Linked DNA regions of Homo sapiens: all the other regions are linked to region 2. The links are contacts of gene promoters, found by promoter capture Hi-C in blood cells and fetal thymus (Javierre and others, 2016). All regions are on one chromosome and are shown on one strand. Each heading gives the region's core, a stretch centred on a gene start or on the middle of the fragment in contact. The rest is flanking DNA. Distances are from core to core; before and after follow the strand shown. Region 1 overlaps CFAP299 (cilia and flagella associated protein 299). Region 2 holds the start of BMP3 (bone morphogenetic protein 3). Region 3 overlaps CFAP299 (cilia and flagella associated protein 299).

The links. Contacts are between HindIII fragments. The CHiCAGO score rates a contact against its expected background, and 5 or more counts as called.
Region 1: a fragment that was not itself captured here is called in contact with the fragment with the promoter of BMP3 in region 2 in 1 of 17 cell types (naive B cells); the score reaches 5.4 in naive B cells.
Region 3: a contact is called between a fragment that was not itself captured here and the fragment with the promoter of BMP3 in region 2, in 2 of 17 cell types (total B cells and naive B cells). The highest score is 5.1, in total B cells.

Annotation. Positions count from the first base shown.
Region 1 is chr4:80,530,731-80,534,091 of GRCh38, reverse strand. All of the region lies in intron 2 of CFAP299 (cilia and flagella associated protein 299), which reads right to left. Among named protein-coding and RNA genes, the nearest start is that of CFAP299, 200 kb to the right of the region's middle. The HindIII fragment of the contact is 502 bases long and covers 1,033-1,534 here.
Region 2 is chr4:81,029,021-81,032,456 of GRCh38, reverse strand. BMP3 (bone morphogenetic protein 3) reads right to left here and starts at 1,749. Exons shown (of 3, transcript NM_001201.5): 1 at 857-1,749. The coding sequence starts at 1,172. The HindIII fragment of the contact is 6,285 bases long and covers 1-3,436 here.
Region 3 is chr4:80,598,450-80,601,746 of GRCh38, reverse strand. The region is part of intron 3 of CFAP299 (cilia and flagella associated protein 299); the gene reads right to left. Among named protein-coding and RNA genes, the nearest start is that of CFAP299, 260 kb to the right of the region's middle. The HindIII fragment of the contact is 1,501 bases long and covers 1,199-2,699 here.

The DNA of each region.
Region 1 (3,361 bases), core at 34-2,533, 500 kb after region 2:
TAGCATGGTAGATGTTAGTTTACTTTACAGAGGTAGATATCATTAATTAATCATGGTGTTCTATTCTAATAATCAGAGTAGTTCCCTGATAACTCTGAACATGGTACTGGATCCAATTAATGCTTATGTATATTCCCACTATTTGTACATAATATTATGAACCTATCATATTTGTTGTCTTTATTTCTTACATAAGAGATCCAGATCATATACCCATGAAACAGTTTTTTTTACAACACTACTTTAAAGGACAGCTTACTATGTAACTATATGTGGGATTCTATATTTCACTGCAGAAGGTTTCCCAGGTATTTTTTGTTATGAATAATTCTGATGAGCATCCTTGGAGCATGTACACTAAGTGATGTAAAATTGATTTGCATTAAAAGGCTTTTAATATGTATTGCTAAATTATTGTCATAGGGCTTTGCAATTTTTTTTCAAACATTAAATGTCTTTGAGAAATAACTGGATCTTAGATATTTAGTGCATACAATTTTCTGCAATCCTTTTTTAAACTTTCCCTGAGGCAGGAAACCAAATAGCTTTGTTTTGCCAACAGTTAAGGCTCTTCTATAATTAAAATTGCAAAAGGTACCCACCCTGAAAAGAAAAAGGGATTTAGTGGCAAAAAATTTTTTCTAGCTAGAGGAGTCAAAAATAAGAAGAGATTGGAACATTCCAGTAAAAGAACTTATAAAAAGGAATCCTAGAATTCCACACCTGTGTTTACTAGTAAATGTTAACAACATTCATTCAACTTTTTAGAGAAACATGCTTGAATACAGTGTTCTTATCTTTTGTATTTAGCCAGGTAACTACTGACAGCTTCAATTACCCAGCTACTATTATGCAAATGAAATTGAAGCCAGAAGTCCTGCACCTGTGTTTTCCTCTGGATTTAATATTTCTAACGAGTTCTTAAATCCTGCTCTGCAGACATGCATGTGAGATTGCTCAACTCAGATTACAGTAGAGCAGGGGAAAATCTTTTCAAATGTAGACAATACTTAGAAGGAATTCAATAAAGCTTAGTATACATAAGGTTGGGATATTGTTAGATGGGAAATAGACACACAAAAAAACAATAAATTATCAAGATGTTTTTAGTATTGAGATGTGTGGCCTAGTGACATTAAAGTAATGAGAAAAAAAAGGTCAGAAAAAGTTCTTAGCCACTAGCTTTCCCTTTGTGGGAGGTCCTTTGTACCTTCTTGGCAGCCACCCCCAGTGACCTACCGTCACTGCTAGCTTTGCAGAGTTTTCTTCCTGCTTTTATGAACAATGTCTGCAACTGAAATTTAATTTCAAAAACATTTCACTGCTTTAATAACACAGAGATTTATAAATATCAACAGAAATAATAACAACCACAATAACAGTAGTTAACATGTAATTGAATCTTACCATGTGCCAGGCACAGACCCTAGGATTTAATGGGATTTATATAATTTACCTATAGTATGTCATTTACTCCTCACTAATTAATGAGAAAATAACTTAATCTTATTTTGCAAATGAGGAAACTGAAGCTTAGCTTGATTAGTCAACTGGATCAAGGCCACATAATGATTAAAAAATAGCAGAAGGCAATCCTAACTCTACTTCACACTACAGAAAAGTGAACAAGGCAAGATACTTGTGGCTTTCCAGTTATACATGCTAGAATGGTGCAAAGAAATTTTTTTAAAAAGTCAAAAAGATTATAATGGACTACTTCCCACTTTTTAATATCACATTCCCTTCTGACAGTTTTTTTCCCAACATTTAGTAAAGAACCTAGAAAAATGCTGCATCCTTCTACATGCTAATTTGTCTTATTTAAAAAATAGAAAAAATATTAAGCTGTAATAAGCTATTTCCAAAAGAGCCAAAATCTACAATACATAAAATACTTGAGATTTTAAGATGGATTTTGCTTCTCTATGGCTCAAATCTAAGTAGCAAGAAGAGGCAAAGGGAATAGGGAGGAGCATCATGTCATCCGTGACTCTTAAAAAATCTTTCCTAGAGCCCCATTAACAAATTCTGTCTTAGGCCGGGCGGAGTGGCTCACGCCTGTAATCCCAGCACTTTTGGAGGCTGAGGCAGGCGGATCACCTGAGGTCGGGAGTTCGGGACTAGCCTGACCGACAATGGAGAAACCCCGTCTCTACTAAAAAAATACAAAATTAGCTGGGCATGGTGGTGCATGACTGTAATCCCAGCTACTTGGGAGGCTGAGACAGGAGAATTGCTTGAATCCAGGGGACAGAGGTTGCAGTGAGCCGAGATCGTGCCATTGCACTCCAGCCTGGGCAACAAGAGTGAAACTCCATCTCAAAAAAAAAAAAAAAAAAAAAAACTTCTATCTTATCAGTCAGAAATGGGTCACACAGCCACACCTAGATGCAAGGGAGGCTGGGAAAATTAGTATTTTTAGCTAGGAACATTGCCACCTTGAACAAATCAGAAATCTATTTTCAATAAAGGGCATAATGGATATTGAATAGGTGACTATCAGTTGCTGCAGTCTGAAATAATCTTTGAGGTTTTTCTCTGCAGACTTTAAAAGATAATAAAAGATGGAAATTTAGAAGTATAATTGCAAATTGAAAATTATATCAACTGTAGGTGGTGCCTAGTTCCCTGGAGTGAAATTGAAAAACACATTTTTGAACCACAAGCTAAAATATTGAAAATTGGCAAAGTTAACAAGTACTTTGTTTCACACTTTAAGAAACACTTAAAATTATGCACTATACACTAACACAAAATGTATAAAGAAATTTATCTATAAATATATAAATGCCAGAAGTATAAAGGCAAAAATTTTAAAGCATGCCTGATTTATTTCTTTTACTAGCATTTAAAATCCAATACACTAGGAAATTTCATGCTATTTTCAAAATATGCCTGGAATATGGCCATTTCTTGCTATTTCTACCCTCCTGTCACTCATGGTCCAAGCCATCCTCATCTGGACTAGATTATAAAACTAGTCTTTTAATTGATCTTCCTACTTCTTCCTCTGCCTCTCAACACAGTAGCCATAGCCACACTTTTAAAATATAAATTATTATTTTTTCTCTGCTTAAAACCATCTAAAAATTCCAGTCTTATACTAAATAAAACCCAAAGTTTGTATATTGACATACGAGGCCCTACATAGTCTGTACTATCATTGACTTCCACACTCAGGTCTTGGATCTCATTTCCTACCAGCTCTCTTGCTTATCCATGCTAGGACTCCTTGAAGCACATCAACCTCAAGGTCTTTGCACATGTTTTCACTCTGCCTGGAGTGTGTTCTCTGCCAGATCAGCTCTGCTTTCTTCTTCACTTCCCTTTCATCTCTTTCTAACTATCGTCATATCAATTA
Region 2 (3,436 bases), core at 500-2,999:
TAGCATAAGTTATTCCCTTCACCACAGGGGCTAGGAGAAACCTTGTTAAGCCATGAATTTCAGTCCGAAGTGATCTGTGCTGAAAAATGGGATGAGCAGATTTTCTTGGGCAGATTCCAAGAGGTGTTTACATCCAGGGTTGCTCCCTCCCCTTGTCTCCCAGCTCCTCCCAGGATGGATGGTACAACCCCTGTTTACCCAGATGCGTTTTAATAATCGAAACACCCAAGCACCTGTTTTTTTTTTTTTTTTTTTTTTTTTTGCCACTAAGGAACTATCAAGTAAAGTGTCAAATATAGTACAGTAACACAAAGGGCGCGAATTAGGAGCGGGTGCAATATCTGGAGAAGCGACTGGGGAAGGAGAAAAGGAGAGGGGAAGGCGTCTTATTCAAGTATGATTTCTCTCGGGTCCTGGCATTGGCATAAAATGGCATCTGCCTCTTAGTAAACATGGCTAAAGCCCAGTCCAAAGGAATTTCCGCTGGCCGATTTAGGAATCAACAGAATAAGGTACCCTAGAGGTGCTCCAGTCACTCAGGGCAGGAGGCCTCACAGGCATGGGGTGTCGCCCCTTCCCTTTTTCCACGAAGCTCCTCCAGCCTACCCCTCCACTGCTCCGCGCCTTCATTCTATTTCCCCCTCTCACTTTGGATTTGAAAACTGGGCTTACAGGAGATGCAGCTGGCGACACGCGGGGTGTGACTGGACGGAGGAATCCAGAGGGCAGCTGAGGAGGGCGGAGAAAGGTCCCTAGGCAGCGCCACCAAGCAAGGGGCAGACAAGGAAGCTGTGGGGGGTCCCGGGAGAAAGCTGGGGCGGGACCGCGGGAAGGGAGTCTCACCTCGCGCACTCACCTGCTGCTGCCGCCCGAAAGCTGCGAACCGTGTTGCCTTCGCGCAGGAGCCGAGGGCGCCAGGGCTGCGAGCCTCCCTCCAGGGAGCCCGGTGTCCGGGCCGCCTGGACCGTGCTGTACCTGTCATAGAGCCGCAGCATGTGTTCAGAGACCTTGTCTTGCGGCTGCAGCTCGGAGTCCGGGCCACCACCTGCCGTGCGGTCACCTGGCACAGCTTTGCGGAGCTCCGGGAAAGGTGGCTTCGGTCTCTCTCCCTGCGCCAGGCTCACGCAGAAGCAGCCCAGCCACAGAAAGAGCAGCCTGCTCGCCCCAGCCATGGCTAGGTACCCGCGCGGCGCGTCGGCTCCCGGCGTCGCTGCGGGACACTCCGAAGGCGCAAGGAGCCGGCGGCGGAGCCGAGGGTTGAACTCCAAACCAGCTGGGGCGAGGGCGCACGGAGCCCGGGACGCGGCCGGGTGCAGCGAGATAGCGGCCAGCCCCACTTGCTGCGCTGACCCAGCGCAGCCTGACAGGTGGGCTCTTCCCCAGCAGCTGCGCGGACCTCACCCGCGCAGGGCGCTGCGGGCGCCGTCTCCACTCCAACGCTGAGAAAGAGCTGTAGGTCGCGGCGTGTGTGGCCCGGGTGTTTTCAAGATCTGTCTGTACCTTCCCTCCTCGCTTTATTTTTGGGAACACCCGGCCAAACTGGCCGCGCGAGGGACTAGGACTAGCTCTGTTTTGGGCGCCAGGTCGGAGCCGGGGCTGTGCGCAGCGGTCCGGAGGGCGCTCGATTGCCTTTTCCAGGGATTGGAGCAGCTGCGGCGCGGCTGGTCCGAGTTTTTTAGTGTACGTGTGTGTGTGTGTGCGCGCGCGCGCGCGCGTGTGTGCGTGTGTGTGTGTGTATGAGAGAGAGAGACTTAGTTCTTTCGCTCTCTAGCTGATCTGTAGAGTCCTCAGCCAATCTCTCCCACTCCCTCGTCCTCGCCCTCTTAGCTTGCACCAGGCTGGGATAGAAGCAAGGGAGGGGGGGAGTAACCAGAGAACTGGCAGCGGGAGGGAGAGAAGAGGAAGTAGGGGTGGGGATGGCTGGGGAGAGGAAGGGAAAAGGAGATTCAGGACTAAAGAAATGGTAGGAGGGACGGTTTTTTTGTTTTGTTTTGTTTTGTTTTTGTTTGTTTTTTTTTTTAATTCTCCAAGAACAGTGGCTGTGTGGTGGCTAGCAAGAGGGCAGAGGAAAACAGAACTTCTTCCTGGCTTTTCGGTCTTATGATTCCAAACAAAGTCACAACGTGAACACCATTCTCGCTTACTTTCCCGAGCCTCTTCTGACGGACACTGCGGGCCCCTGCACCTGCAGCCCGTCATCATAGCTTCCTGTCTTTCTGAGAGCATACCCATCATAACGCCCCTCTCTCCCGCATCATCTTCTCTCGAGGTGAGAAATATGTGCGAGTCAATATCATGTTAAAAACAAATAAGAAAACAAGCAAACACACCACAACCCCACCTACAGCTTCCCCCAAAGGTTTCCTTCCTACAGGTCCCCAAAAGGTTTCCCAGCAGGATGGTGCAGTGGTGGCTAAAAACAAGGGTGTGTGGAAGATCCCGGAGTCCGGAACAGAATGTAAGAGTCGCTAGCTTTGTCTTCCTAATTCTCTCTTGTCATGGCTGTACAATGGAGATTAAACTATGAGCAGCCTGGCGCAGTGGCTCAGGCCTGTAATCCCAGCACTTTGGAAGGCCAAAGCGGGTGGATCACGAAGTCAGGAGTTCGAGACCAGCCTTGCCAACATGGTGAAACCTCATCTCTACTAAAAATACAAAAATTAGCTGGGCGTGGTGGTGCGCACATGTAATCCCAGCTACTGGGAAGGCTGCGGCAAGAGAATGGCTTGAATCCAGGAGATGGAGGTTGCAGTGAGCCGAGATTGTGCCACTGCACTCCAGACTGGGTGACAGAGCAAACTTTGTCTCAAAACAAAAAACAAACAAACAAACAAAAAACAACTGTGAGCTAACATTTTTCTCCACACTTATGCTCTAGACATGCCTTGTTATTTATATTTCAAGTATATTACCAAATAATTTTCACAGCAAAACCCATTTTACAGATGAGGAAACTGAGGCAAAAGGATACATAGTAAGTGACAGAACTGAGATCCAAATTCAGGGAGTCTGATTTCTGGCCTCAGGCCAGATAACCACACTATTAATAGTGAAATTAGCATTTAAACTGAAGTTTCAGTGTGCAATCCATGTAAATGTTTAGTGCAGTTCTTGACCATATGCAGTAAAATCTTCAGTCAATGTCTATTGCATTTATCCCTCTTCCCCTCTGTAGGGCAATGGAGTTGATCGAAAAGAAGATAGGCTCCTGGAGTCACACCATGTCTCCAGATCTGAGTTTCTTCTTTGATGGTGAATAACAACACATTCCTTTTAGAGTTTTGTTTGGATGACATTAGAAAGCAGTGCTAAAGTGACTGGCGCACTCACTAGCCTTTAATAGGGGCTCAATCCCTTTCTATCCTAAATTTATCCCAAATCCAGACTACATTCTCCCCACTCAGTCACTTCTTAACCCACTGCGGTTTGGATTTTG
Region 3 (3,297 bases), core at 700-3,199, 430 kb after region 2:
AATGAATGAGAACGTGATCCATGCTTATCTCACCCGGATCAAGCAATAGCCATGAGTGTGAGGTGGCGTGGTGACCCTAGGTATTGTCCACTATACACAACAAACTTTCTTTTAGTCTGACTGTTCCAAAGTCTAGAAAAGGGGAAAAAATACAACAATGGCAAGCCCATTTGCTTTCACACTAAGCCATCATTCCAGTATAGATTTATCTGTTTAAGAGTTAATATTATTTTTTCATTCTATCTGATTTTAGAATTTTCTCTCAACTAATTGCAAAGGTAGGTGGGGCATAATGAAGTCATAGTAAATAATGCCCTCAAACTCTAACAGCATTTATTTATTCATATGACTTACATCTCAAAATGCACAAAATATGGTATGTGTAGTCAAGGAAAATTTATCACATGAAAAATTTTAAGAAGTATCTAAGTCAGATCCACTCAAAATTTAGGCAAAGCTAAGTTATAGGAGCACAAATTTTCTACTTTAAATAATGTCACATGATAAAATAGTGAGATTAAAAACTAAACTTCTCCAATTAATCTTAGATAACAAAGATGTGTATAATAAGTTATCACCTCTTTGAGTCTCAATTTCATTATCTGCTAACTAAAAGCTATAAAACTTTTAAAGTTTTTTCCTATTGATTCTTCTCTCTAACCATCTGGGAAGGTTGCAGCTTTATATAACACTCTCATATATGAGTCTTAATAACAACTAATATTTGTTAAGCATTCAATAAATACAGACACCATATGAAGCACATCACTTACTCCATCTCATTTAAATCATTCTATAATCCATCAGGTGGATACAATAGTTACCCTCTTTCTACAACTGATGAAACTAAGGCATAGAAAGGGCAAAGCCTTTTTCCAAAGTGGTTCAACTAGTAAGTATCAGAATTCAACTATGAATTTAAAATTTAACTTATAGCCTACTATCTTTACCACAGAATAAGTGTAAATCCATGTCCCAGAAACTTGCTTTGTATTTTGGATACACAGAACCATTCCTCAGGAGTTGTTTATTCCCATGAAACAACAACAACAACAACAAAAAACTGACCTTTTCAATAGTGAGAAGAAAGCAAATAACCACAGTATGCAATAATTGTCATGATAGCTACAGTACAAACTGATGAAACATTCTTAATTTTGCCACTTTTTACAATTATTAAAGACTGTAAGACAAAGCTTGTTTTTAATTTAAAAGCTCACAGCAGCACAGGGAGTCCAATCTGTATTATATTTGTATTTGGAAAATAAACGTACACTGTCAAAAGAGAAAACAGACCTAAACAGAAGCTGGTTAAATGTTTGAAAATAATTCAAGGCACTATACCATTGAAGTGATTCCAAAAAGTGACATGGATGTAATATAACATCCTGAACTACATCAGAACTCCAGGATTTAGCAAAAGGGTAAAAGGGGAGTTCATTCACGTAGAGGAAGAGAAAATTTTCTTTGGACTAGTTATATCAGATAATATGTTTGTTTAAGGAAAAGTCAACAGGTGGGAAAAAGTTCTGCATGCCTAACATGGAAAGAAAGCATATTTGCGCCTAATATATTGCAGAAACTGTTTCAGTCTAACTCATTCTTTCAAAAATATCACCCTCATACAGTGGCCAAGGTCAGCTTGAATTTTGGTAATCTGCTATTTATAAGTGTAGAACATATATGTTAAACTGATCTCAGAGGCATTCGGACACCCTGACTTTAAAAAATATTTTCCTTGTTTATTATGCATGAATTACTAATTTTTCCCTTTGAGATCTGATAAATTTCAGCTTTTTGTTTGTTTTTGTATCCCAATTTCAAGTATATAACATCTAAGTTTCCCATTGATAATCAACAACCTTCTTTGCATCATTGCTAAAGGCCCATATTATGATTTGGTCGCATGCTTTACAAAAGCATTACTGTAAATATTTCAAAAATAAATGATCCCTTACAACTTAAGCACAAGTTTCAGACCTTAAAGATTCCCTGTGGGTGTAACAGTAGTATCCTACAAGATCAGGAGAAGCAGGCCCTCATTTTATGTGAAATTTGTAACAATGCAATCATGAGGTAACCTAAGAGAGTTTTGAATTTGTACTCATTGTTAATATGGGTCCTTAAATTCAATACCTCTGCAATTTTGAAGTTACACTGTGTGGACTAGTAAAAAAAAATAATAGGACAGAAGATTTTTAAAAACTATTTTCTAGACCGACTGGGTCACTAACTACATCACTTTACCTCTATAAGACTGAGGATTCTTATCTGTCATTGCCAAACCTATATAAAACAGTAGAGAATTAAGGATAGTTCACAGGATATGAATGTTAGGCACATAACTGTAAAGACCAACTAGCATCACTGCTAATAACGAGTTAGAAAAGCACCTTGCAACAACGTATGGAGATGTCTTAAGAAAGAGTGCTATCACAGGATGTAATTTCATAAACAAATTATGCAGAAAATGAAGACGATTATAGAGCTGTGGATTCAACAGCAGTGTAAAGGACAGACGTAGAGATTAGATATCAGGTGGGAGGACAGAGATCCATAATTCATTGTATGTCTTAATGATATATAGAACAGTGCACTGCATAAAACAGACACTTTGTAAATGCTGCAACTGAAATAAATGCATACTTAAAGACTTTCTCCTTGGATTTGGCCAAATAAAATCTATTTTGCATAAAGCTTTTACTTTCACATAGTTGGAGGTGGCTAGAGGCCAAAGTATGACATTTAGGCATGCCGCATACCATCTTTTGGGTATTCCTTTTCACAGAGGTGAAGTAACTCTATACTGGAAGTGATTTACTCTAAGAATGTGGTCAAGTTTCTAGCATTAGGACCCTACCTCGATATAACAAGAAGTGGGGATTCAGAGAAAGGTGTATTCTCTTACGATTTCTTTGCTTGAAAATCTGAGGAAACAGTATGTTAGGTACAACTAAATAGCTTTGCTTAAACACGATTTGCAGTTAGGAGCAATGTCACCTAGAGGAGGAAGGCCTCTAGCATACCAGTCAGAGATTTTAGGATATAATCCTATAGTATCTGGTATTTGCTATTAGTCACTTTCTTATCATATCTGCCTATGTTGAATGCCTGAATAAAGGAGAAAGAGCTAACATTTTGGATTAATTATTTAGGATTCCAAAATACCCTGATAGGCTTGAACAAATAATCTGAATAACATGAAAACACCATTAAATGCTCAAGAAAACATGTTAATTGCTGTTTTGATATTCAAACTAATCAATTCTAGTAGTAGTTAATGAAGGGCATGGCTTA